4 separate regions of the Homo sapiens genome follow, and all the other regions are linked to region 3. The links are contacts of gene promoters, found by promoter capture Hi-C in blood cells and fetal thymus (Javierre and others, 2016). All regions are on one chromosome and are shown on one strand. Each heading gives the region's core, a stretch centred on a gene start or on the middle of the fragment in contact. The rest is flanking DNA. Distances are from core to core; before and after follow the strand shown.

Region 1 (6,214 bases), core at 3,505-6,004, 210 kb after region 3:
CTCAGCCTCCCAAGTAGCTGGGATTACAGGTGCGTGCCATCACGCCCAGCGAATTTTTTTGTATTTTTAGTAGAAACGGGGTTCCGCCGTGTTGGTTGGGCTGGTCTCGAACTCCTGACCTCAAGTGATCCACCCACCTCGGTCTCCCAAAGTGCTGGGATTGCAGGCATGAGCCACCATGCTTGGCCTCTGCCCCAGCTTTCTGATATGACTGGTTCTCAACTGTGCCAGCACATATTAGAATTATCTGGGAAGCTTTAAAAAACAGTAGTGCCTGAGCCCCACTCCAGAATAATTGAATCTGTCTCCCTGGAGGTAGGGCTAGGCATTTATACTTTTTAAAAGCACCCCAGATGTTTCTACTGTGCAGCCAGGGTTGCAAACCACTGACTATAATTTCAAGGGAATTAAACTTGAACAGCTCAAAATGACGTAAGTGTGTAATTAATTACATTCAGCCTCAATAACTGTTTCTAACTGATCCTGGTGGGTGTTGGTCATGGAAAATAGCCAGAGGAAGAAATTAACTGCAAGATCAGAGGAAATTTCTTGTGGTGAGGCAGTATAACACAGCAGAAAGAGCATTTGCTTTGGGTCAGACTTGAGTTGCATCCTGTTGATGCGGGACAGGCAAGCCCCCAAATTGGGGTTTAGCCTGGGAGGGTTCTTAGCTTCACCCAGAAAGGAATTCCAGGGCCAGCCAGTGGTGTTAAATAGCACCTTTTATTGAAATAGCAGTGTGCAGCCGCAGCAGAGGTACTGCTCCTTGCAGGGTAGGGCTACTCCATAGGCAGTGTGCCCAGAGTAGTGGCTCAGAGGCAGTTCTACAGTCACATTTATACACACTTTTAATTATATGCAAATTAAGGGGCAGTTTATGCAGAACATTCTAGAAAGGGGCGGTGACTTCTTGGAGTCGCCATGGCAATGGTAAACTGACAAGGTACACTGGTGGCAGTGTCTTATGCGAGGTACTTCCCACCACACCTGTTTTAGCTAGTCCTCAATTTGGTCCGATGTCCCAGCCATTCCTTTCGAGTCGAGTGCTGCCCCCTACCTCACTGTCACTTGGCCAACTTGGCCCAGTTACAATTGACTTCAGCCTCAGTTTCTTCATCTGTAAAACAGAAACAATAAACCTTTGCAGGGTTGTATGGATTACAGATAATGTATGCTAAATGCCTGCTAGGTGAGTTGGTAGGTGAAGGGCAACCATTAGTAATAGCAAAGACCTTACTTTGAAGAACTTATTCTAAAGAGTGGTAACTGAGATGTGTCCCTGTGATGACCTGCTCAGGCCCAAAATGACTCAAGCTTCTCTGGAAGACAGAATCCTAGGACACAGATCCCAAGCCCTGAGGCTGGGGTGAGAAGGAATTGCGGGAAGGGCCTGAGGATGCAGCAGAGAGAGCAGTGGGGGCTCCTCTGCCTTCCAGGATTGACCAAGGCTGAATGTGAAACTTCCGTGGTCTTAAAGCCTCACCCCAGGGAAGAGGCCCTGTGGCACTGAGGGAGGAGCTCTACACACACGCTGCTTGCGGAAGAGAAGGAGAAGCAGGTAGGGGACTCTGCAAAAAGAGAAAAGGAGAAAAAGAAGAGGATCTTTATTCTCTTTTACCCCCGTGTGCCTGGGATGGAGATGCTTCTCCACCCAGCCTATGGCAAACAATCATTACAGTTCCCAAGTCCACCTTCAGCCACTGCTGAAAACACAGGACTTCACTTGAAAAGTAGTCTCAGAACACTGAAATATGTCCCACTTTCAACATCAAGGAGGACATAATAGTAATCCTTTACTGGGCTCAGCACTTCACAGTTGATCTTGAGCGTTTTGGAGTCCATTTAGGCTTCATAACAATCCTTCCAAGTGGCTGCAGCAGGAGATCCAGTTTCCAAAAGGGAAAACAGAACTGGCTCAAAGGACTAAGAGCCGGAGAGTGGCTGAACCAGGTCTCCAAACTTGATAGGACTCCAAGGCCAGTGGGTGCCTTTTCAAGACCACTAATGACAGCTACCATTTTTTGGGCACATTCTCTGTGCGAGGAAAGCCCTGTAGTAGGTGTTCTATATAGGCTACATAATTTGATTTATTCCACTCCCCTCACAACTCTAAGCAGTAGGAAGGAGCAGGCCCACTTTACAGATGCTGGAAACAAGGCTTGACGAATGAAATGAGTTGTCCAGAGTCACAAAGCCTGTTGGTGGCAGAACTGCAACTTGGCCCTAGGACTTCTCACTTTGATTTCAGCTTCCTCCTTTTGCAGCGCTACTCCATAGCTGACGGCCACAGCTATACAGTGGTACCTACTCTAGTTACTTATCTGCCCTTCGTGACCTCGCCTAACCTCTTGGAATCTATTTACTTCTGTGTAAAATGGGGATAATAATATCTATAGTATAGGCTTGTAAGAATGACATAAGATCATTTTTGCAAAGTACATTGTAGATACAGATAAATGTATCTGTATCTACAATATACTTTAGCCAGTGGTGATGGAGAGCCTGGGGTCAGAATACTTAGGTTCAAATGATTTTAGCCATATTATTTAACCTCTCTGTGCCTTAGTTTCCTTATTTGTAGAATGGGGCTATAACCATACCTACCTCAGAGGGTCATTGTAAGGAGTAAGTAAAGTAACCCAGGTGAAGGCTACACATAGTAAGTGCTCAATAAATACTAGCTATTTTATATATGTGTGTGTGTATTTTATATATATATATATATATATATATATATATATATATGTATACACACACTATAAATTCTGTTCCTTGTACCCTCTTTGTTTATTTAGAGACAGGGTCTCACTCTCACCCAGGCTGGAGTGCAGTGGTGCAATCTTGGCTCACTGCAATCTCCACCTCCTGGGCTCAAGTGATCCCCCTACCTTAGCCTCCCAAGTACCTGGGACTACAGGCACATGCCACCATGCCTGGCTAATTTTTGTAGAGACAGGGTCTTGCTCTGTTTCCCAGGCTGGTCTCGAATTCCTGGGCTCAAGCGATCTGCCTGCCTCTGCCTCCCAAAGTGCTGGGGTTATAGGTGGGAGCCGCCGCACCCAGCCCCTTATACCCTATTTAATAATCCAGTTTGTCCTGCAGTCCCCTGCACCATACTCTGCTTTTTTCCCAGTAATAGTATCATCTAAGATAATGCAATTGGCCACTTGCACTCCCTTTTACCACCCTCTACTTTTATTCTTTCTTTTCTTTCTTTTTTTTTTTTTTTTTTTCAGAGACAGGGTCTCATTCTGTCACTCAGGCTGCAGTGCAGTCATAGCTCACTGCAGCCTCAAACTCCTGGGTTCAAGAGATCCTACCACCTTAGCCTCCTGAGTAGCTGGGACTATAGGTGTACACTACCATGCTTGGCTCATTTTAAAATTTTTTGTAGAGGCCAGGCGTGGTGGCTCATGCCTGTAATCCTAGCACTTTGGGAGGCCGAGGCAGGCGGATCACGAGGTCAGGAGTTCAAGACCATCCTGGCCAACACAGTGAAACCCTGTCTCTACTAAAAATACAAAAATTAGCTGGGCGTGGTGGCGCGTGCCTGTAATCCCAGCTACTCGGGAGACTGAGGCAGGAGAATTGCTTGAACCGGGACCTGGGAGGCAGAGGCTGCAGTGAGCCAAGATTGCGCCACTGCACTCCAGCCTGGGCTACAGAGCAAGACTCCGTCTCAAAAAAAAAAAGTTTTTTGTAGAGATAAGATCTTCCTATGTTGCCCAGGCTTCTACTTTCATTCTCCAACATAGCTTATCTGCCTATTTTTATTGCTTGTTGTCTGTCTCCCTCCAGGACAAGGATTTTGTCCTTCTCTTCAGAGGTATTCCCAGCACCTACAACAGTGCCTGGCACATAGTAGCTGCACGATACATATTAGCTACTATAGTAAAGTCTACCTGACTACCCTATTTAATAGAATATTCCCCATGCTCAATCTGAATTCCTGATTCCCTTTAACCAACTTTTTTTCCTTTTTTTTTTTTTTTGCAATAGTGCTTATTACCTTTAAGACACTCTGTAACATACTATATTTATTATTTATTGTTAGTCTTTCTCTCCACACCTAGATTGTAAGTCTTATGAAAGCAAGGGCTTTTGTAGGCTTTTTTTTTTTTTTTTTTTTTTTTTTGAGACAGAGCCTCACTCTTCACCCAGGCTGGAGTACAAGGGCACAATCTGGGCTTACTGCAACCTCCGCCTCCAGGGTTCAAGCGATTCTTCTGCCTCAGCCTCCCAGGTAGCTGGGACTACAGGCGTGCGCCACCGTGCCCGGCTAATTTTTGTATTTTTAGTAGTGACGGGGTTTCACCATATTGGCCAGGCTAGTCTCGAACTCCTGACCTCGTGATCCGTCCGCCTCGGCCTCCCAAAGTACTGGGATTACAGGAGTGATCCACCGCGCCCGGCTGTAGGGTTTCTTATTCAGGTATTACCAACACCTAGGGAGTTGCCTGGCATACAGTAGGTAATTAATGGAGTATTTGATGAGCGCATGATGCATGGTGTAGTGCCGATGGAAGTGGGGTCAGAAGGCCTCCTGCCGCTGCGGCAGAATTCCCGTGTGGCCTTCTCCCACCAGGGCCTCAGTTTCCCCTCGCAGTTCCGATTCTCTGGCCGGCGCTGGGGTGGAGCCGGCGGGGCCGTCGTGCCGCCCGTGGCCGCTGGGGACGCTGGTGCCCTCCCGCCCCGCCCACTTCCCCGCCGGTCCGCCCCTGGCTAGAGAAGCCGCAGCCCGCAGTGTCCGACCCAGTCGTCCCGCGCCGGAGCCGGCCCCGTAGCGTGCCATGGCCTGCTACATCTACCAGCTGCCCTCCTGGGTGCTGGACGACCTGTGCCGCAACATGGACGCGCTCAGCGAGTGGGACTGGATGGAGTTCGGTGAGTGCGGCCCGGGGAGGGGAGGGGACCAGGGCGACCGGAGCCCCCAGCGATCCCGCCTGGAGCGGCCGCCAAGCTCCCTCGGGCACCCGGGTTCAGCGGGTCCCGATCCGAGGGCGTGCGAGCTGAGCCTCCTGGACCGGGTCCGCCGCGGACCTCGGCCTGTCACCTGAAGGTGCCGCGTGGTCTCTGAGGACGTCTGTCGACGAGCAGGGGCCGCCGCCACTGCGCTCTGAGTCCAGAGAACGGTGGGTACGGGGGCCCTCCTGTCAGCGCTGCTGGCTCGGTGACGTCCCCAGGTGGCCTCTCATCCAGCCCACAACAGCCTGCAAAGTGCGAGCCTCGACCCTGTAGGGACCCACGGTGCTGTCACTTCTTGGGGGGGTGTGTGTGTGTGTGTGTGTGGTGTGTTTAGTTTTAGTGTATATTAGAAGGATCTATGATTTAACATATATATATATATTGAAACGGAGTTTCGCTGTTGTTGCCCAGGCTGGAGTGCAATGGCACGGTCTCGGCTCACTGCAACCTCCACCTCTGGGATTCAAGCGATTTTCCTGCCTCGGCCTCCCGAGTAGCTGGGATTACAGGCGCCCGCTACCACCCTGGCTAATTTTTTGTATTTTCAGTAGAGACCGGGTTTCACCATGTTGGCCAGACTGGTCTTGAACTATTTTTTTTTTTTTTTTTTTTTTTTTTTAAGACGGAGTCTCACTCTGTCGCCCAGGCTGGAGTGCAGTGGCGCGATCTAGGCTCGTTGCAAGCTCCGCCTCCCGGGTTCACGCCATTCTCCTGCCTCAGCCTTCTGAGTAGCTGGGACTACAGGCGCCCGCCACCACGCCCGGCTAACTTTGTATTCTTAGTAGAGACGGGGTTTCACCGTGTTAGCCAGGATGGTCTGGATCTCCTGACCTTGTGATCCGCCCACCCTGGGCCTCCCAAAGTGCTGGGATTACAGGCATGAGCCACCGCGCCCGGCCTCCGGAACTCTTGATCTCAGGCGATCCACCTGCTTCGGCCTCCCAAAGTGCTGGGATTACAGGCGTGAGCCACTGTGCCCAGCCTATTTATCATATTTGTGATTAAATGTACTTTACCATTATAGTTTTAAAATCAGATATTTACTTTTAGTGTACATTGTTTTGATCACAGTATTTATGACTATCAACCTGTTTTGAGATCAGATGTGTCCTAATAGATTCAGTGTGTATAATGGGGCCTAAGCACAAGCACTTACTTTCACTCTATTGCAAGGTGCACAGTTCTAGATAATTCCGTGGGAAGGCACTCAGACAGCCTCCATATGTTTTGTTTGTTGGTGCCTGACGGA
Region 2 (6,033 bases), core at 2,009-4,508, 180 kb before region 3:
CACATCTGTTTGCTTTCTCTGGGAGAATAAGAAGTCATAAGTCAAAGAAAAGCATCTCTCGTGGTGAAATTTCAATCCTCAGGGATAATTAGTTACTGTAGTAACCTCATCACTGGTTTCCAGTCTTGTCCCTCTCCAATTTACCCTCCAAGCTGTGGCCAGAGTGACTATCCTGAATTGCACACCTGCCAAAAAGTCTTAAGTGTCTCCCGGTGGCCTATGGGACAATATCCAGCCTCCCTGGCCTGGCTTCCAAAACCCTACACAAACTGTCCCACTTTCATCTCCAGCCCCTTTTTCCACTCTCCCCCCAGCCTGTGATTTTAAGCTCCATCACACTCTACCTCTCTCCACATAGAACCATGCCTCTAAGCCTTTGTTTATGCTATTCCTTCTGCCTGGAATGTCCTTCTTCCTCTCTGACAAGTGCACACCTACCCATCCTTCAGTCCCCAGCTCTAATGCCCCATTCTCCAGGAAGTTTTCCCCCAGGCAGAAGGCACAGCTCTCTCTGGGCTCCACAAAGCCCTCAATCCCAACCTTAATTGGAGCACAGCACACACCCTGTTGTCATTTTCTGTAGGTCTGTCTCTTGCACATGTCTGGGATCAACTTGAAGGGCAGAGACCAGGTTTGAGTTATTTCTGCATTCCCAGCACCAAGAACAGAGCCATCTCCAGCCTCAGTTCCCAAACCTAGGCTAGAACACTTAGCTCTTGGCAGCAAGTTAAATGGACTGACTGGCACCTTCATTCTCTCGACTTCTTTCTCTTCAAGAACCCAGGGCTATTGGGAGAGCAGCCCGTGTCCCACCCACTGTCATCCAGAAGTGAAAAGCTGGGGACAGTTTAGGCCCTAGATAGTGCTGCCACAGGGCCTGGGCTGTGGGAAACAGGAAGCATTAATTGACCAGAGGAAGCCCCACCCTGGACTCAGCCTCCCTCAGCCATCCAGCACCCAATCCTGCCCTGGACTCACGTGCCCAGAACATCTCGGAAGTCGTAGATGTCTCTAATGTCCTCCGCCTGCTTCCACCTGGGGCCTTCCACTGCCCCCAGCATGGCCCACTGCCCCCCGACCACAGCCAGGGCTCCTGTAAGGAGAATGGAAGGAGGAGACTCAGCAGAGCCCAGCCCTCTGTCTGGGAATTTACTGCAGGCCCCATTCAGTCATTCAACCTGCATTTATTCATCCTTGATTCATCCATTTGACAAAATCATTCAACAAACATTCATTTGTTTATTCAACATTCAGCAAATTCTCATGCCTAGAGAAAAACCTTTCACAGTGGCAGCAAAATTCTTTATTTAACAAAGTCATGCATTCATTCATTCATTTATTCTAGTTCTCTTCCCAGTTTTCCCCCTATCCAAATCCAAGCACCTAGGGAAACCCTGACTTCTGGCAGTACAACAGATAAACCCCCAGAGCAGCTGGTAGAAGCCTGGAGGATCCCCCTGTCCCCAGAACCAGTGATGTCCCCGCCCCACCCTGGGGATTGCTGGGGTGTCTCCTTTCCCTCCTCCTTCCCCCGACTCCCCGGCCTCTCCGAAATCAGGTTTCCAGCAGCCTGGGCTTCCAGCAACATCTCAGCCACATTTTTAAATAGCTCTTTCTGCACTGTTACCACAGCAACAACAGCCACAGCTGGAGCTCCCCAGACCTCTCCCTCCTGACTCCCCATCTGGGTCCCGGGAGCATGAGAAATGGTCCTGCTCACTCTGTCCCTTCCTGGCCCCATCTAACCCTATCCAGCCTGGCCCTTCCTCTGCTGAGGTCTGTCTCATCCAGCAGGAGAGGGTGGGAGTTCTCTCCCATTTATCAGATGAAGAATGGGGAGACTGAGGTTGGAGTTAGGTAGAGGCTGGCTCCAGAGGCCCTAATGACACCTGGCCTGGGGCCCCCAGCTAAGCTTGCTGAGGGCAAAGGCCATCGAATGGCCTTGGCTGGTACTTCCAATATGAAGCCAGAATGGGCCCCATTCAGAGAACACAGCCTCCCAACCCATCCACAGATGAGGCCAAAACAGAGCCCAGCATGCTTTGTGACCTCAGGGAGAGCACTTTCCTTCTCTCTTTTTCTCTAAGGGAGAATGAGGAGAAGGTGCCCTGACTAGGGCCTCTGGTGTGAGATTCCACTCCTGGAACAGGACCTTTTTCCCAGGGGACCCTGCCCACCCATCCAGGGGCAGAATCTTCTAGGAAAGGAGACTCGAGTGTAAGCTCTAGAGGCAGAGTCTGAAACCCACATGGAGGCCTACCAAATACAACCCTCACAGATCCACACACATCCCTGTAGCAGACATGCCACACCAAGCCCCCTCCACAGCCCTGAACTCAAACACCTGCCTCCCAGATCCAGTACGCCTTGTATCCACATCCCGTGACACCTGATCATACATGTACTCCCAGACATCAGCACACATGTCCACACCACACAGTGCCCCAGACAGCCCTGCACCCGAACACCTGCCTGTCCATCCAAACATCCCTCACCCAGCTCCCTCTTACACCCCAAAACACACATCCACCCGCACCCACACAAGATGACACCCAGACACACACACACACACCCTCATATACCAGACGTACCCTACACCCTCCAGCTCCTCTACCCCATCCCCTGGAAGCTCCTGTATTCCAAACCAAACCCCAAGTCCTTACACACCTAACTCCAAACATCCTCAGTACACAATTGTACACCCCCTCCTAACTCTGACTTAAGACCCTGAGAGCCAAATACCAGCACACAAAACACGTGGACACCCCTCTGGAACAAAAAACACACAGATTCCCAGATCCTCCACCCATGTCTGACCCACACGCCTGTCCTAAGACAGTACACTCCGCAAGCCCCCCCACCCCATGGATACCTCCAAATGCCCACGCCCTTCCAGTCAGGCCCAGCTGAAGGCGCTCACACAGGCCCCCTTCTCTATTACCCACTCAGTGTCCCATAGGCCCGCCTGGCACCTGCTGGGCCTGGGACAGAGGTGGAGAAAGGCCCAGCCCTGCCCCTCAGGGTCCAGCCCGCCCGGGAGAGTGCCCAGTGGCCACTCCTTGGGAAAGGATACCCAGAGGCTAGGGGCTCCCACCGCCCCCACGCAGCGCCCAGGGGTGCAGGGATGGGGGGCCCGGCTGTACCTGCGGCTGCCCCGCCGCGGGGCTGGCTGGGAGGCCCGCGGTGGTTGGCGCCGAGCTGTGGCCGCGGTCCTCACCGCTGCGTGCCTGGGCCACCCGCCCGCGCTCTTGCTGGAGCTGGGGCTCGGCTCGGCTCGGCGGCTCTCTCCGCCCGCCTGCGGCTCTGATGTCAGTGGAGGTGGAGCCTGCGGCGGAGGGACCCGGGATTGGGAGGCGAGGCACCGCTCCAAGGCTGGGGAAGGGGCACGGGTGGAGGCCATCTCCCTGCTTCTGGTCAGAGATCTCCTGCTGGACGCTTCCCGCCCTTGGTCTTAAGCGGGGTCCATTTCACAGAGGGGACAACTGAGGCCCGGAGAGATGATTTTCAAATCAGCGGGTGGTCGGAAGCAAAGCAGGATTCGAACCCCGTCTGTCTGAAGCTAGAGGCCGGCCAAACTCACCCTGTGGCCTGGTGGATTTTCTTTCAGACCAGTTCTGCGACCTCCCTTAGGGCTCTGTCTCCCTTCTCCGTGCCCTGAAGGGAAACAGGCCCTGGAACTGCACGGGAGTCTGGTGGGGGATGGGGGAGTGAGGGAGTGGGGAAGGACCGGGCAAGACTAGGCAATGAAGAGAGTGGAGGTGGTCGCAGGGTGTGGGCCCCACTTGACAGGTGGGAAGACTGAGGCCCCGGTTCCTCTGCAAGATGGAGCTGAGGCTTCAGCCCCAGACACTTGCTCCTCAGAGCGGGTGGTGGTGCCTAGAGGTATTGGGGGCAGAGGGAATTGGGGAGGAGGAAGTTAAATCGGGATCCTGAAGGAAACAGGCCAAAAAGGACCGAGGTGTCACGTGACTGGCGGGGCTCCAGAGTTTGATGGCTGGGGTCCAGGTTAGGGGAGAGAGCCTGCAACTAGGACGGCAGGCAAGAGGCCAAAGGTCGGTTTGCTCAAGGCCTTCCTTGGGAAGAAATTTGGTGCCGAGTGGAAAGAGGGGGCGGGGGGAGCAACTCGCAGGAATTGGGGATGGGGCTGAACTGGGGGCAGCCGGAGGAGGCACGTTGCTTGGGACCCCACTCCACCTCCAAGGGCCTCCAAGTGCCACTCCCTACTCCTGAATTCTTGCATGTTCCAGCTGGTGATGGGGAGAGAACAGTGCTTATGCCCAGCTCATTTCCTTTTTCTCTTTCTTTCTTTCTTTTTTCTTTCTTTCTCTTCTTCTTTTTTTCTTTTTCTTTTTTTTTTAAGACAGGGTCTTGCTCTGTCACCCAGGCTGGAGTGCAATGGCATGATCACGGCCCACTGCAGCCTCAAACTCCTGGGCTCAAGTCATCTTCCTACCTCAGCCTCCCATGTAGATGGGACTACAGGTGCGTGCCACCACACCTGGCTTTTTTATTTTTTGTAGAGATGGGGATCTCACTATATTGCCCAGGCTGGTCTCAAACTCCTGGGCTCAAGCAATCCTCCCCAATCAGCTTCCCAAGGTTCTGGAATTACAGGCATGAGCCACTGCACCTGGCCAATTTATTATGCCCATCTTACAGATGAGAGAGGAAGATAGCTGAGGTTCCTGGAAAGGCTTTGGAGTCTAACTGATCCTGGTCATGCTTTACCTCTCCGAACCTCAGTTTCTTACTCGGGAACATGGGAATATTGAAGATTGACTCAGAGTTCTGAGAATTCTATGATATAATGATATGAAGTGCCTAGAACACTATTCAAAACATGAGAGCTAGACTCAGTGTAAACTGAGACTCAGAGAGAGGACTTGATTTGGCCAGGGATGAGGGGTTAAGGGATCCATCTTCCAAATCTCAGTATCTCAGACTCCTTAGTTCATGGAAAAATACATTTCCTGCTCAGGGCTGAGCCCCCACTCTCCCCTATACCCACCAAGCACACCCACTGAGCTAGGGGTTCTTTTACCACAAATTCCTGTTCATCTTGATGACAACACCCCCTGGGTGATAAGATGACCTCTGTCCTTTCGAGGACTTGTACAACTTCTTTTTTTTTTTTTTTTTTTTTTTTTTGAGACAGTCTCCCTCTGTTGCCCAGGCTGGAGTGCAATGGTGCCATCTCGCCTCACTGCAACCTCCGCCTCCTGGGTTCAAGCAATTCTCCTGCCTCAGCCTCCCAAGTATCTGGGACTACAGGCGTGAACCAACACGCCCAACTAATTTTTGTATTTTTAGTAGAGATGGGGGTTTCACCATGTTGGTCAGGCTGGTCTCGAACTCCTGACCTCAGGTGATCCACCTGCCTCAGCCTCCCAAAGTGCTGGAATTACAGGCATGAGCTACCGCGCCCAGCTGACTTGTACAGCTTCTATGGTGTGCTTTACATTTTTCCTGCTTTTGAGCATTTCTGAGAGGCCTCGTGTTTTCTTTTCTTTAACAAACACATTATCTTTACTTTCTTAGTATTTCTATTGAACAAGTGATACATGGTCATTGCAGGAAAATTCCATAATGTATTGAAAACACACACAGACTAACTGATGAGATTCTTTCGCTTCCCAAGTGACAGAATGCCAACCTAAACCAGCTTCATCCAAGAGGAATCTATAGTTCACAATAGCTGGCACAAGATTGCAGGAAAAACACCAGAGATTAGGGGCTTGGAGACTGGAACTGGAGATGTAGTACTCATAGGATTTGCTTTCTCTGTCTTCCCTCCTCTCTCCTTGTCTTGATTTTTCTTCACACGTTGGCCTCTTTTTCTCTCCAGAGTGAACTTCTAGTTGGCAGGAAACATGGAGTGAGGCAGCCCCAGCTTTCCAATTAAACACAGTGGAAGGAAAGCATCCTCCCAATTTCCTATCTCATTCTCAGGGAAGGACTCTGGCTCTGCTTGAGTGATAGAGTGACATGTTCACCCCTTGGCCTCCAAAACTGTTGCCAGGAGAATTAGGGTGC
Region 3 (6,501 bases), core at 146-2,645:
CAGGTATGGGCGAGGTTCATACCTGATGCTTGACAAGCGTTACACATTCCTCTTCCCGCCTTCCTTCCCTCATCTTCCTGGGCACTTGTCACTCTGGTCTGATTCTATAATAATCTCCTGCCTCTTATTTCAAACCTGCAGCCTCCAGTATATACCTGGCCCCACGTGGATATCCCCTAAAAGTTCCTGTTCTCGAGAGCCTGTCAGTGGGCCAGGGAGGCAGGAAGGGGCCCCACCACCAGGAGAGGTTTCATGGAGGGTGCGAGAGCTGAAGCCTGGGTGTGTTTGGCGGCAGAGGCCCTGCTCTTTTCCTCTCTGGGGAGCAGCTGTCCCCAAAGCTTCCTGGCTGTTAACCCATGGTGGCTCACAGACACCTTAAGAAGCCACTGAAAACCCCTGGTGCTCTCCCGGGGAAAAGACCCAGGCTCACCGAAAGTTGTGAACAATTTCAAGGGGTTCAAAGACCTTTGAGTCCCATCCTCCAAACTCGAGTTTAGACTCTGTCTTAAAGCCTTGTTAGTTCATTTCTCAAACATTCACGGAGCCCCATGGGCTGCTCCTGGTCTAGGCTAGGTGCTGGGGGCCCAGAGACAGGGCTTTGCTCCAGGGTTGGGAGTAGGGGTGCGCTGAGACGCCCCTAACACAGGTACTGGCTAAAAACAGTGCTCCTGTGTTTAGTTCTTTCCCAGTGAGGCTCCTGCGCTGAGCTTAGCAACACGTCACTCCGCCCTCCCAATACAAGGTGTGGGAACAGCCATTTCACAGGGGGAAGAAACGGGGGTTCAGAGAGGGTGAGCAACTCCCCCAAGGTCACACAGCTGAGTGGACACAATCGGGGTTGTGAAACCCTCGGAGGCTCATCTTCCACAGGAGGTCCAAAAAGCTTTGCCGAGAAAACGGCTGAATGGGGCCTCCAAAGATAAACATGCCATCTGCCTACCACTGCCAACCCAAGAGATGTGGGCACCTGCGGACAAGGCGGGGGCTTGCCCAGCCCTGGGCTCCCACTCTGCTGGAGAGGCTGTGGGGGGTGGCGGATCTCTCTGCCGCAGGGACTGGGGAGAGGCCGGCCTGGGGGCAGGGCGAGGCCGTTGCGGGGCAGCCTCGGAGCTGGTCCATCTCGGGTTACCTCTCCTCCTCCTCCTCCTCCTCCTCCGTCTCCTCTCTCCCTGGCTCCGCGCCTTCCCGCAGTGTCCTGGATGGGGGTGGGCGCCGTGCAGGCCTGGTCGCCTGCGCCCGCGACGGGGGCAGCAGGCCACGCTCCCCGTCGGGGTCCCGCCATCGCCCCCTCCCTGGGCCAGCTCCTCACCTGCGCGCCGCAGCCCCCGTGTTCACCTTGCGCGCGTCCCTGCAGCCGATCGCCGCGCCGCATCCTCCGAGATGCTCAGACTCGGCTAACAGAGCCCGGCGCTGCCGATCGCGAGCCCGCCCACAGGAGCGCAGCCCTGCTTAACTCTTTCCCCTTAGGGGTGGACTCTTCTGTCAACCCTGACTTCCCCTCGCTCAGGGATTGTCAGGGCTCAGAGTGGAACCGAGGTCATCTCTGAGGGATGTGGAAATGTCTTCTGCAGCATCCCTGAAAACGGGGCAGCTAGCCTCTGCTTGCATACCTCATGGGACGGGGAGCTCACTTCCTTTCTATATCCCTACATCCTTTTAGGTAAATCCTACCTACAGCTTGGTATGTATCCTTCAGATTCTTCTCAATGTACAGTTACATGTACATCTTAAATAGAAATGACATCATACTGTATACTTTTTTTTTTTTTTTTTGAGACAGTCTTGCTCTGTCGCCCAGGCTGGAGTGCAGTGGCGTGATCTCGGCTCACTGCAACCTCCGCCTCCCAGGTTCAAGTGGTTCTCCTGCCTCAGCCTCCCTAGTAACCATGCCTGGCTAATTTTTATATTTTTAGTGGAGACAGGGTTTCACCATGTTGGCCAGGGTGGTCTCGAACTCCTGACCTCAGGTGATCAGCCCGCCTCGGACCCCCAAAGTGTTGGGATTACAGGCGTCAGCCACCGTGCCCAGCCACTGTACACATTTCTGTAATTTGTCTTTTTCACTTTCCAATATATTCTGGCACATTTTTCATGTAAATATCTATAGATCTATATCATTTCTTGTATCCACTGTTGAGAATTCCAGCATATGGTCAGCTAGTTATTGTTCTTTATCCTGTCCCCTGTAATTGGACATAGGTTGTTTCTAGCCTTTTGCTCGCAGGGATAATGGAGCAGGGGCCATTCCTTGCTTAACACATCACTGTGCACGTACACTAGTGCACCTACCAGATAATTGCCTAGCCGAGGCATGGTAGTAAAATCTATGGGTCTGCATATGGGGCTGGTAGACACTGTCAAAATGTTCTTGGTCTTTCTTTGAACACCTCTTGATATACTAAACATCCATTATTAGGCTCAATTCCTTAAGGGAAAGCCACACAGGAAATATATGTGGTTATCAAAAATGAGATAGGGCTGGGTGCAGTAGCTCACACCTGTAATCCCAGCACTTTGGGAGGCCTAGAGAGGAGGATCATTTTGAGCCCAGGAGTTCAAGACCAGCATGGGCAAGATGGTGAGACTTTTTTAAATTAAAAAACAAACAAAAAAACAAAAAAACTAGCTGGGCGTGGTGGTACATGCCTGTAGTCCTACCTACTCCAGAGGCTGAGGCCAGAGAATCATTTGAGCCCAAGAGGTCAAGATTGCAGTAAGCTATGGCCACTGGAGTGTCACTGGAGTGCATTGACCACTCTGTCCATTGACCACAAGCTGTGTCACTGGAGTGCAATGACCACTGCACTCCAGCCTGGGCAGTAGAGCGAGACTGACAAAAAAAAAAAAAAAAAAAAAAAAGAAGAAGAAGAAGAAGAAGAAAATTTGGCCTGTATAATGGCTCATGCCTATATTCCCAGCACTTTGGGAGGCCAAGGCTGGAGGACTGCTTGAACCCAGGAGTTCGAGACCAGCCTGGGCAACATGGCAAAACCCCATCTCTACCAAAAAAAAAAAAAAAAAATTAGCCAAGTGTGGTGGTGCGCACCTGGGTCCCAGATACTCAGGAGGGTTATGTGGGAGGATCACTTCAGTCCAGGAGCCAGAGGTTGCAGTGAGCCAAGGTCGCACCACCGCACTCCAGCCTGGGTGACAGAAAGAGACCCAGTATCAAATAAAAAATCAAATTTCACTTAAAAAAGAAAAAGAAAAAATTCTTCCTAGGGCTGAGCTGACATCTCCCTCCCAATGGCTTCCTACCTCTAGCTCTCACAGAAAAGCAATACTCAGGCCCCAGTTGTGTCTGACGTGTTGCAGTTTGAAGAATATTCCATCCCTAATGGCTGGTAAATGGTGGGGCCTGCATTCAGCTGCTTGACTCTGGGAGAGGGTGCAGGCCTTGCCCGTTTCACACATGACCTGACCAGCTCTGTTTTCCTTGTTGGAGCCACTTCAGAATTGTAAAGGCATCTCTCATTTCTCTAGAGTCTTCTTTCTCCAGGACAAACACTCCGAGTTTTTCAGCTGTTCCTTGCAGGACAGGATTCTGGGTTCTCACCATGTGGAATCTCTTCTCTGTTTGCTTCTTACCAGCTCAACAACGCCCCTCTGAAAGTAGGACTCTTGGAAATGAACCTTGTTGGGAGTAAAGCTGAACCTTCACCTCTCCTTTCCAGGATTCTACTCCATTCATACGGCCTCACACTGAATTAATGTTTCTAGCAGCCACATTACTTTGTTACCCAATTGATCTAGTAGTAAAGTCTTCCCATCTCTTCATGTACCACTGGTTTATTGACTCTTAATGTAGGATTCTACATTTGTTTGTTGTTTATCTTGTTAGATCCAGCCTGTTGTTACAATCTTGTAGGAAGTTAACTGGATCCTGATTCTACATATAGCTGATTGACATTTTGGAGGGTTTTGCAATAACCATTTCCCTTCCTGACAGCATCCTAACTTCCTTTGGGGGACCTGTGTCTGTTCCCATGTGGGCAGTCTTGGCCAGAATGCAGTCCTAGGGCCCCCTACAGAAGCTGAGGAGTCTGGATCCTTCCTCTCACTTCCCCTTGTGAACTCGCTGGGAGCCTCCTTTGGAGATGTTGAGATTCCCTCCACAGGCTCAGAGCTGGCCCGGTTCCCTTCCTCAGTTTCTCCTGAGAAGGGCAGGTGTGTGAGTGCCTGACCTCCCAGTCCATGCAGGGCCATCTGGCTGCTTGCTGGCTGCCCTCTTTGGAACCAGGGGCCCCAATCCCATCGCGTTTCTAAACCACCAACCGGCAGGCATTCTGAGATTCCAAACAAATGCAAGAGAGATTAGGATCCCTTTGGCTAGAGGCCAAGGTGAAAGCTGATCCTGCGGAAAGAGGAGACTGGCTGGGGTGGAGGTGAATGTAAGCGGGGAACACGAGGTGCGCAGGTGTGGACGGGGAGTATCTCAGCTCCAGATGGAGCTCCCAGCATCCTTCTGCAGACTCTGGGACGGCGGGGATAAATGGAAGGTGACTCCAAGTATACAAGGGATGGTCAATATCTCCTGTTCACCAAGCACTTGGTCTGCCAAAAACTATGCTACACACCATTATTCTTTTTAAGTCCTCATGACAACCCTAGGTTTTATGTTTTTCATTATACAGCTGGCAAGCTGAAGCTCAGAGAAGTTCAATAACTTGTTAAAGGTCATGCAGCAACTAAGGGGCCAAGCCACAGGCCTGACTTTAGAACTAGTGCTCTTTGTTTTGAGATGGAATCTTGCTTTTGTATTTTTAGTAGAGGCAGGGTTTCGCCATGTTGGCCAGGCTGGTCTCAAACTCTTGGCCTCAAGTGATCAGCCTGCCTCGCCCTCCCAAAGTGCTAGGATTACAGGCATGAGTCACCACGCCTGGCCAGAACCAGTGCTCTTAATAGTAATGACACCCTCCTGCCCCTCTGGAAGAACCTGAGAGAGGAAAGTGGGGGAGAGGGAAACCCCAGGCCTTCCAGGCGGCCCCTACTGTGTTAGGAGTTAATTGAGTCCATGAAAATAGGCCCTCCAGTTTGGATCTCTGTTGACTTCAAACCAACAGAGCTGAAAGTTGTTGTGACTCCCCAAGGAAAGAGTGAGAAAGAAAAGGCAAAGAAGATGGGGCTGGCAATGATGAAATCTCCTGCTTAGACAAAGCCCAGGACAGTTGGTTGGCATTTTCATTCTGGCTGGTTGCTCTGGCAGGCATGAGAAAATAAACAAAAGGGAGAACAGGTGGGAGAAAGTGCAGGCTGGTGAACCTTCTCTGTGCTCTGCCCACTGTCCTGAACTCTGAGGGCACGGGGAGTTATACTCTTTTACCAAACTGGCCAAATTCAGCCTGAAGGGCTCCTGGAGTCTTAGCCTACTCATTCTCAGATTTTAGCTTCCACCAACACCAACTAAACAAACCTGATCTTTTTAAAGAGGTTTTTTGTTTGTTTTTTGAGACAGAGTCTCTCACTTTCACCCAGGCTGGAGGGCAGTGGCACAATCTCAGCTCACTGTAACCTCCGCCTCCTGAGTTCAAGCCGTTTTCCTGCCTCAGCCACCCGAGTAGCTGGGACTACAGGAATGCACCACCAGGCCTGGCTGATTTTTGTATTTTTGGCAGAGATGGGGTTTCACCATGTTGGCCAGGCCGGTCTCAAACTCCTGACCTCAAGTGATCTGCCTGCCTTGGCCTCCCAAAGTGCTGGGATTACAGGCGTGAGCCACCACACCTGGCCAAGAGTTATTTATTTTTTTTGTGTGTGAAATCTGATGCCACTTTAAAATCAGCAGATCCTTACCCCATTCCCTTTCACTCTCAATTCCCACTTTCTGGAAGTAATTATTGTCAAGTCTTTCTGGTACTTCTGGTTATTTCTTCTGGTATTTATCCTATTTTCACATCAGATTTATGCGGCTAATGTTAATTATTTTCAGTTTTGGGGGTTAATCTATTGACTACTATGAAGATAATATGAAAATGTAGTTCTTCTATTACTTTCCATATTTTTCTGTAGTTTTTTGGTATCATTATTCTGCATTTACAATACTAGAACTGTGAAACAAGTATTCAAGCTGATTCAAGAAGTGTGCTGTGAGGATAATAATTCCCTCTCCAGACATTGTTTCTCCTGCAGTAAGTACTGCTTGGTTTTTCATTTGCTTAATTTTCCATGCATCTATCACTAATTCATTCCCCTTAATCTTTCCTTAAAGTGAAAAACAATTGAAAGATTTAATTTCCCATTCAGATAACATTTTCAGAGATTCACAGAATTCTACAGAGACAACAAACAACATGGTTTCTTCGACAGATGAATGTCTTGAAAAAAAAGGGAGGGAGGGAAAACTGTTACATAAGAGATTTAAGAGATATAGCAACCAAATGCCACGTGGGGGCCTCGTTGGGAGCCTCAGTCAAATAAATCCACTGTGGAAAAGACATTTTAAGACAATTAGGGAAATATGAACACAGATTGAGTCTTAGGACATATTAAGGTATAAGCATG
Region 4 (6,235 bases), core at 1,634-4,133, 240 kb after region 3:
ATAGAGCACCTCCCAGTTTATAATTAGATGTCTTTTATTTAACTAGCTTAATGTCAGTATTACGGCAGTTTTGATAAAGGATTCCCCATTCCCTAACACAAAATGAATGAATGAATGAATGAGAAAGAATGAGTCATTTCAGCAGCAGGTGGAGTACAAGTTCAGTGGAGAACCAGGGATCGCACAATTAGGAAGGCAGGCTGTGCTCTCAGGTTTGCCTCATTTCAGGTCTAGCTTGAGTTGGGAGTGTGTGTGTGTGTGTGTGTGTGTGTGTGTGTGTGTGTTGTGTGTTGTGTGTGACTGTGTATGGCCTGGAGGGCCAAACCCAGGGATTAGGAGGGAAAGGAAAAGAGAGGGCGCGGAAAGCTGTGTTTGTCCCTGATAGAGCCAGCTGGCACGAGGGTGCTTTAGTTATAGCTGAATCACTTTTGTTTGTTCTGGAAGGGATCTATTCTGGCCACATGAGTCAGCCTAAGAACAAATTACTGTGTAGTTTGACGGGCGTGAAGGGTTGGGGGGAATTTCCAGAGTGTGCTCACCCAGGAAAGACCTTGTTGCCAGCTCTGAGTCCCCTCTGCTCCAACAGCTCCTGGATTTGCCACCGTGTGAAATGTTCTCAGGCAGCTAGTGTGACGGCCCAGGCCCCGTCAGCCAAAGGCCCAGCACCCATAAACATCCTTTAGTCCTTTCTCCTGAAGGAACTGGGCCATAAACAAGCACATAATAAATAAATCTGCATTCTAGGCTTCGCTTTCTTCAGATATAAGACAACTACCTTATACTTGGTAGCAATTATCCCCCAGAGCTGTTACCTGAATTAAATAGGCCACAGATATGGGCAAGAACTTAGGAAAAAAAGCCTGACCTAGAGTTAGAGTGGTCATTATAATAACAGTAGTAGGAGGCCAAGGCGGACGGATCACCTGAGGTCAGGAGTTCGAGACCAGCCTGGCCAATATGGCAAAACCCCGTCTCTACTAAAAATACAAAAATTAGCCGGGCGTGATGGTGTCTGCCTGTAATCCCAGCTACTCGGGAGGGTGAGGTAGGACAATCGCTTGAACCCAGGAGGCAGAAGTTGTAATGAGCAGAGATCGTGCCACTGTACTCCAGCCTGGGCAACAGAGCGAGACTATAGCAAATGATGGTAGCTTAGATCTGCTGGGTGTTAATTTTTTTATCCTCATGGCTGGTCTCGGGTCGGGGGTCCACTTCCACATCTCATTTGTCGGATGAGGAAGCCAAGGCTTAGGAGGATCCCCCTGCTGGTGAGCCTGACTGCAGGACACACTCCAGACTGCGGGAGTTCATTTGCCTTCCGTGGCATCAGTGATTCATGCTCATTAGGAAGAGCACAGGCATTCCGAAAACAAATCAGAGAGAAAAAGAAATCATGCCTGGCAACCAGCTCTGGTGAACCATGACAGGGGCACAGAGAAGCGCTTCTGCCCCTCCCCCATTTCCTCCTTGTATCTGGGACTCAGCCCTCATCACTGTGGGTTCTCAGCCTCAGCAAGGCAGCTTTCACGGATATCCAGATTCCAGGCTGGGTGCAGTGGCTCACACCTGTAATCCCAGAACTTTGGGAGGCCAAGGCAGGTAGATTGCTTGAGCCCAGGAGTTTGAGATCAGCTTGCGCAATATGGCAAAACCCTGTCTCTACCAAAAAAAAACAAAAACAAAAACAAAAACAAAATTAGCCTGGCGTGGTGGCGTGCTCCTGTGGTCTCAGCTACTTGGGAGGCTGAGGTGGGAGGATTGCTTGAACTTGGGAGGTAGAGGCTGCAGTGAGCTATGGTTGCACCAGTGCACTCTAGCCTGGGTCACAGAGCAAGACTCTGCCTCAAAAACAAAAACAAAAAATCCAGACTCTGTCTGAGAACTGCCGTGTCAACCTTCTGGTGCCTGTGGCCACCTAAGCTATAGATTAGCTGTTCCTTCCGTCACCTGCGTCCCCTTCCTATCCCTGGGGGTCCCAGCAGGGAGAACCCTGGGCTGCCCACCTCCAGTGTGTGACTGAGGCTGGCTGCCAATGGCGTGGGCACAGGCCCCCACCTCCCCTGCTGCTGGGCTCCTATGTTACTTTGCTCTCATGGCCACTGTACCTCTCGGGACTGTGCACCAAGTTGCTGCCCACCTAGAATCGGTTTCCATTAGAGTGTTTAAAATGTTAAAAATAGCCTTCCACCCTAAATGCTTCCTTCGGAGGCCCGAGTTGGGAATCAGAGGTTCTTTTCTATCTGCACCTTTCTGGCAGAACTGAAGGAGGGTGGCTGTTTGCACAGTGTTGTGGGCCCCTGCCCTGGGCCAGCCACTTCACATTTGTCATCATGGAGCCCTGGGACGGCCCTGGGAGGTGTGGGGTTATTATTCTGATTCCACAGGAGAGGCGCATGAAGCTCAGAGGGTTAGGAGGTCTGTGCCTGGGCGTGAAGCTGGAATCGCAGAGCTTGGGTCTGGCTCAAGCCAGAGCCGACGCTTCCCCACGCTTACTCTTGTGATCCTAGTTCTACTCTTTGATCACAGTCTGTGTTTTTGGATCTCATGATCCTGCAGAATCAACTTTATGTGTGGAATTCTCTTGAGAATTTAATCCTGGGAGGAAAGAGTGCTGTCTTGGAAGCCTGAGGCTGCCCCTGTCTATCTGTGATAAGAAGTCCGTGAGCAGCTCACTCCTGAGCCTTGGCCTTGGCAGATAGGAAGCTCAGTGCGAGAGTTAAAGCTTGTCACAGCCCTTTCTTGTAGGCATTTGGCCTCCTTTGCCTCATCCTGCCTTTGGTGTTCTATTTTTATTTCACTAGCTCTCTGGTGTGCCAGCCTGAATGAGTGGGCGTTGCGTCTTTCTAGCTAGCAGGGAGCAGGTTTGGAGGGATGAGGACAGAGGCCATTTTCTCCATCTTCATGTTTGGACAGTGGGACAGGCATGCATGGGCCTGCCTGTCCACCCAGCTCAGACCATGCCGGCAGCTCCAGGGTGGAGATGAGGGCGGTTCATGTTTATACGCACCATTTATTGCTTGCATTTTAAAGACATCTAAAAACTCAAAGCTTGAGAAGATGGGGGTTTCACAGGAAACCAGAACTTCTTGTTGGGGCTGACATGGGGCTCTGTTGGCTTACATCCGTGGCTGGTGTGACCTGGTGCCTCTTGTGTGGGAGGGTGGATGTTAGCCCCAAGTGTGCTGACAGGTCTGGTCACAGGTAGCCCTGCCGACACCGCCCCTCCCCATCTGTTCCTCACTCCTGCTCACTTCCAAATGCCCTGTGGTGCCAGGTGGGGCCACCGCATGTCACTGCAGAAGGAACAAGAAAAAGAAAGAGAAAAGCTGGACTCTCTTTAGGATGAAAACATAATGACATTTTTTATCTTCCCCACGGGTGGAGCCCACAGAGGTCGGCCACAAATGGGTTGGTGGCCTTGATGTTCCTGCCAAATGTGTTTTGACAGAGAGGCAAAGATTTGTGCTGAACAAAACATTACCCTGAATAGGACACTGGACTGGGAGCAGTGGCTCAGGCCTGTAATCCCAGCACTTTGGGAGGACAAGGTGGGAGGATCACTGGGGCCTAGGAGTTTGAGCCCAGGCTGGGCAACATAGTGAGATGCTGTCTCTACACAAAATTAAAAATTAGCTGGGCGTGGTGTTGCCTGTAATCCCAGCGGCATGGGAGGCTAAGAGAGGAGGATAGCTTGAGCTCAGGAGTTTGAGGCTGCAGTGAGCTGTGATCACACCACTGCATAGCCTGGGTGACAGAGCAACACCCTGTCTCAAAAAAAAAAAAAAGGAACAGGACACTGAAGTTAAGTAAGGCTGTAAGTATCACCCTCATCCCCGTTTTACTGTGATGAGAACAATGAGGCTCAGCCAGGCAGGCCTCCGACAAGGAGAAGGTGCCTCATTTGCTGGGATCATGGGCGGTTCTGGGTGTAGGTGAGACCTTTAGGGAGCATTTTATACTGTTGCGGGCCTGGCCTCTGCAGGAGGTCACTGTTGGGAAGTGACTTCAGCGAGCCCAGCCGGCCCTGAGCCAGGGGAGCCACTGCTGCCCTTTTGACACAGATGTCACAAGGATGACAAGCCTTTCCAGGAGCATAAGCCCCACTTGAGGCAGTTTGAGGAGGGAGGGTGGAGGGAGAGAGGCAGTCTCTCCCTGCCAGAGAGGGGAGGCTGGGAAAGATGAGGACTGGGAGTGGCGGGGGGTAGCCTTCCAAGGGAGCACAGGCAGAGCTTTCACTTCTGTGCACCCTGGGAGCGACAGCTCTGTTCCAGACCCGTGCTTGAATCAGCACTCACCCCGACATTGTTCATTGTCATTCTGTACAAGGGACTGGTTTTCTGTTGTTGTTGTTTTTTGAGACAGAGTCTTGCTCTATTGCCCAGGCTGGAGTGCAGTGGCACAATCTTAGCACACTGCAGCCTCCGCCTCCCAGGTTCAAGCGATTCTCCTGCTTCAGCCTCCTGAGTAGCTGGGACTACAGGTGTGCACCACCACGCCTGGCTAATTTTTGTATTTTTAGTAGAGACGGGGTTTCGCCATGTTGGCCAGGCTGGTCCAGAACTCCTGACCACAGGTGATCTGCCCTCCTTGGCCTCCCAAAGTGCTGGGATTATAGGTGTGAACCACTGTGCCCGGCCTAGGGACTGTTTATTCTCCTCCTGGGCCTGTGGAAGGCAGTGGGATGCCATGAGGCAGACAGTGATCCTGTGATTCCTGCAGGCAAGGCCCTTGTTGGAGAGAAACTGGCTTCTAGACTCCGAGTTTCAGCCACAAAGGCCTTGGCCTGATGGCAATCAGGATGGGGGGGTGTGGCCTATAGAACCACTGAAGTGCCCGTGGAGCCCAGGTTGGGAGAGAAGTGCATGTTCTCTGGGTGCCCTTACGTCAGTGGTTCTGGGAGGAGACCCCGCCTTCCTGCCTCAGTGCTGCCTGCCTCCCTGTTTCCCTTGGGCAGGTCTTGTTCCCCGCTGAGCCTCAGCTTCCTGACTTGAGATCTCCAGGGTTGTGGGGAGGGTGCTTGAATTGAACGTATCAATACACAACGTGGACATTCGTTGGTGAAAAACAGAAGTGAGGTGGATCTGAATCTCATGAAGGGCTGATTCATCGTCTGCTCACTGGAGCCAGAGGGGTCCCCAGGGCAAACGCTACTCACACTAGCTTGGAAGACTCAGTTCTCGTCATTACTTTAGCTAGCTTGCTAACTGATTTTTTTTAAAAGAAGTATACTTTACTGTGTAAATAATGCATAATGATTTTGTTGAAAAATTCTATGATATGAATAAATCACAAAGAAAAAAACCCCACAATATAAAACAGGCCAGGCGCGGTGGCTCATGTCTGTAATCCCAGCACTTTGGGAGGCCGAGGCAGGTTGATCACTTGAGGTCAGGAGTTCAAGACCAGCCTGGCCAACATGGTGAAACCCCATCTCTACTAAAAATACAGAAAAAAAAAATTAGCTGGATGTGGTGTTGCAAACCTGTAATCCCAGCTACTCAGGAGGCTGAGGCAGGAGAATCGCTTGAATCCAGGAGGCAGAGGTTGCAGTGAGCCGAGATTCCTCCACTGTACTCTAGCCTGGGCAACAGAGTAAGACTCTGTCTCAAAAAAAAAAAAAAGAAAAAGAAAAAGAAAACTAAAAGACTCTCATCCTACTCTTCTTATCCTCAATATGTGGACTATTTAAGAGATAACCAATATTTTAAGACTATAACCACCACAGAAATAAAGGTCCCATATTTTGAGCTAAGCAGTGTCTCCATTAGTCTTCATAAAAGTTGTCCAAAGGAGGGCCGGGCATGGTGGCTCACACCTGTAATCCCAGCACTTTGGGAGGCTGAAGAGGGCGGATCATGAGGTCAGGAGATCGAGACCATCCTGGCTAACACGCTGAAACCCTGTCTCTACTAAAAATACAAAAAATTAGCCGGGTGTGGTGGTGGGCGCCTATAGTCCCAGCTACTCGGGAGGCTGAGGCAGAAGAATGGCGTGAACCTGGGAGGCGGAGCTTGTAGTGAGCCGAGATTGTGCCACTGCACTCTAGCCTGGGCGACAGAGTGAGACTCCGTCTCAAAAAAAAAAAAAAATTATTTAAAATATCAGTGACAGTAAAGAAAACACAAGGAAGAAGCCACTCAGGCCGGGCGCAGTGGCTCACGCCTGTAATCCCAGCACTTTGGGAGGCTGAGGAGGGCGGATCATGACGTCAGGAGATCGAGACCATCCTGGCTAA

The links. The method cuts DNA at HindIII sites, captures the fragments that hold promoters and counts their contacts. A CHiCAGO score of 5 or more calls a contact.
Region 1: the fragment with the promoter of IRAK2 here is called in contact with the fragment with the promoter of PRRT3 in region 3 in 2 of 17 cell types (activated CD4 T cells and M2 macrophages); the score reaches 6.2 in activated CD4 T cells.
Region 2: a contact is called between the fragment with the promoter of CAMK1 here and the fragment with the promoter of PRRT3 in region 3, in 1 of 17 cell types (monocytes). The highest score is 5.1, in monocytes.
Region 4: a contact is called between a fragment that was not itself captured here and the fragment with the promoter of PRRT3 in region 3, in 3 of 17 cell types (total CD8 T cells, erythroblasts and naive CD4 T cells). The highest score is 6.0, in total CD8 T cells.

The regions. Positions count from the first base shown.
Region 1 is chr3:10,160,165-10,166,378 of GRCh38, forward strand. It overlaps IRAK2 (interleukin 1 receptor associated kinase 2), which reads left to right and starts at 4,755. Exons shown (of 13, transcript NM_001570.4): 1 at 4,755-4,884. The coding sequence starts at 4,791. RefSeq lists silencers at 4,590-4,719, 4,920-5,069. The HindIII fragment of the contact is 5,632 bases long and covers 1,313-6,214 here.
Region 2 is chr3:9,766,689-9,772,721 of GRCh38, forward strand. CAMK1 (calcium/calmodulin dependent protein kinase I) reads right to left here and starts at 3,259. Exons shown (of 12, transcript NM_003656.5): 1 at 3,144-3,259; 2 at 979-1,093. The coding sequence starts at 1,061. It also overlaps a transcript of OGG1 not described here. RefSeq lists a silencer at 3,030-3,209. The HindIII fragment of the contact is 10,493 bases long and covers 1,911-6,033 here.
Region 3 is chr3:9,951,013-9,957,513 of GRCh38, forward strand. PRRT3 (proline rich transmembrane protein 3) reads right to left here and starts at 1,396. Exons shown (of 4, transcript NM_207351.5): 1 at 1,310-1,396. It overlaps PRRT3-AS1 (PRRT3 antisense RNA 1), which reads left to right. Exons shown (of 4, transcript NR_046734.1): 4 at 3,592-3,775. RefSeq lists a silencer at 895-1,434. The HindIII fragment of the contact is 9,295 bases long and covers 882-6,501 here.
Region 4 is chr3:10,191,778-10,198,012 of GRCh38, forward strand. All of the region lies in intron 2 of IRAK2 (interleukin 1 receptor associated kinase 2), which reads left to right. Among named protein-coding and RNA genes, the nearest start is that of IRAK2, 30 kb to the left of the region's middle. RefSeq lists enhancers at 405-714, 4,948-5,242. The HindIII fragment of the contact is 326 bases long and covers 2,721-3,046 here.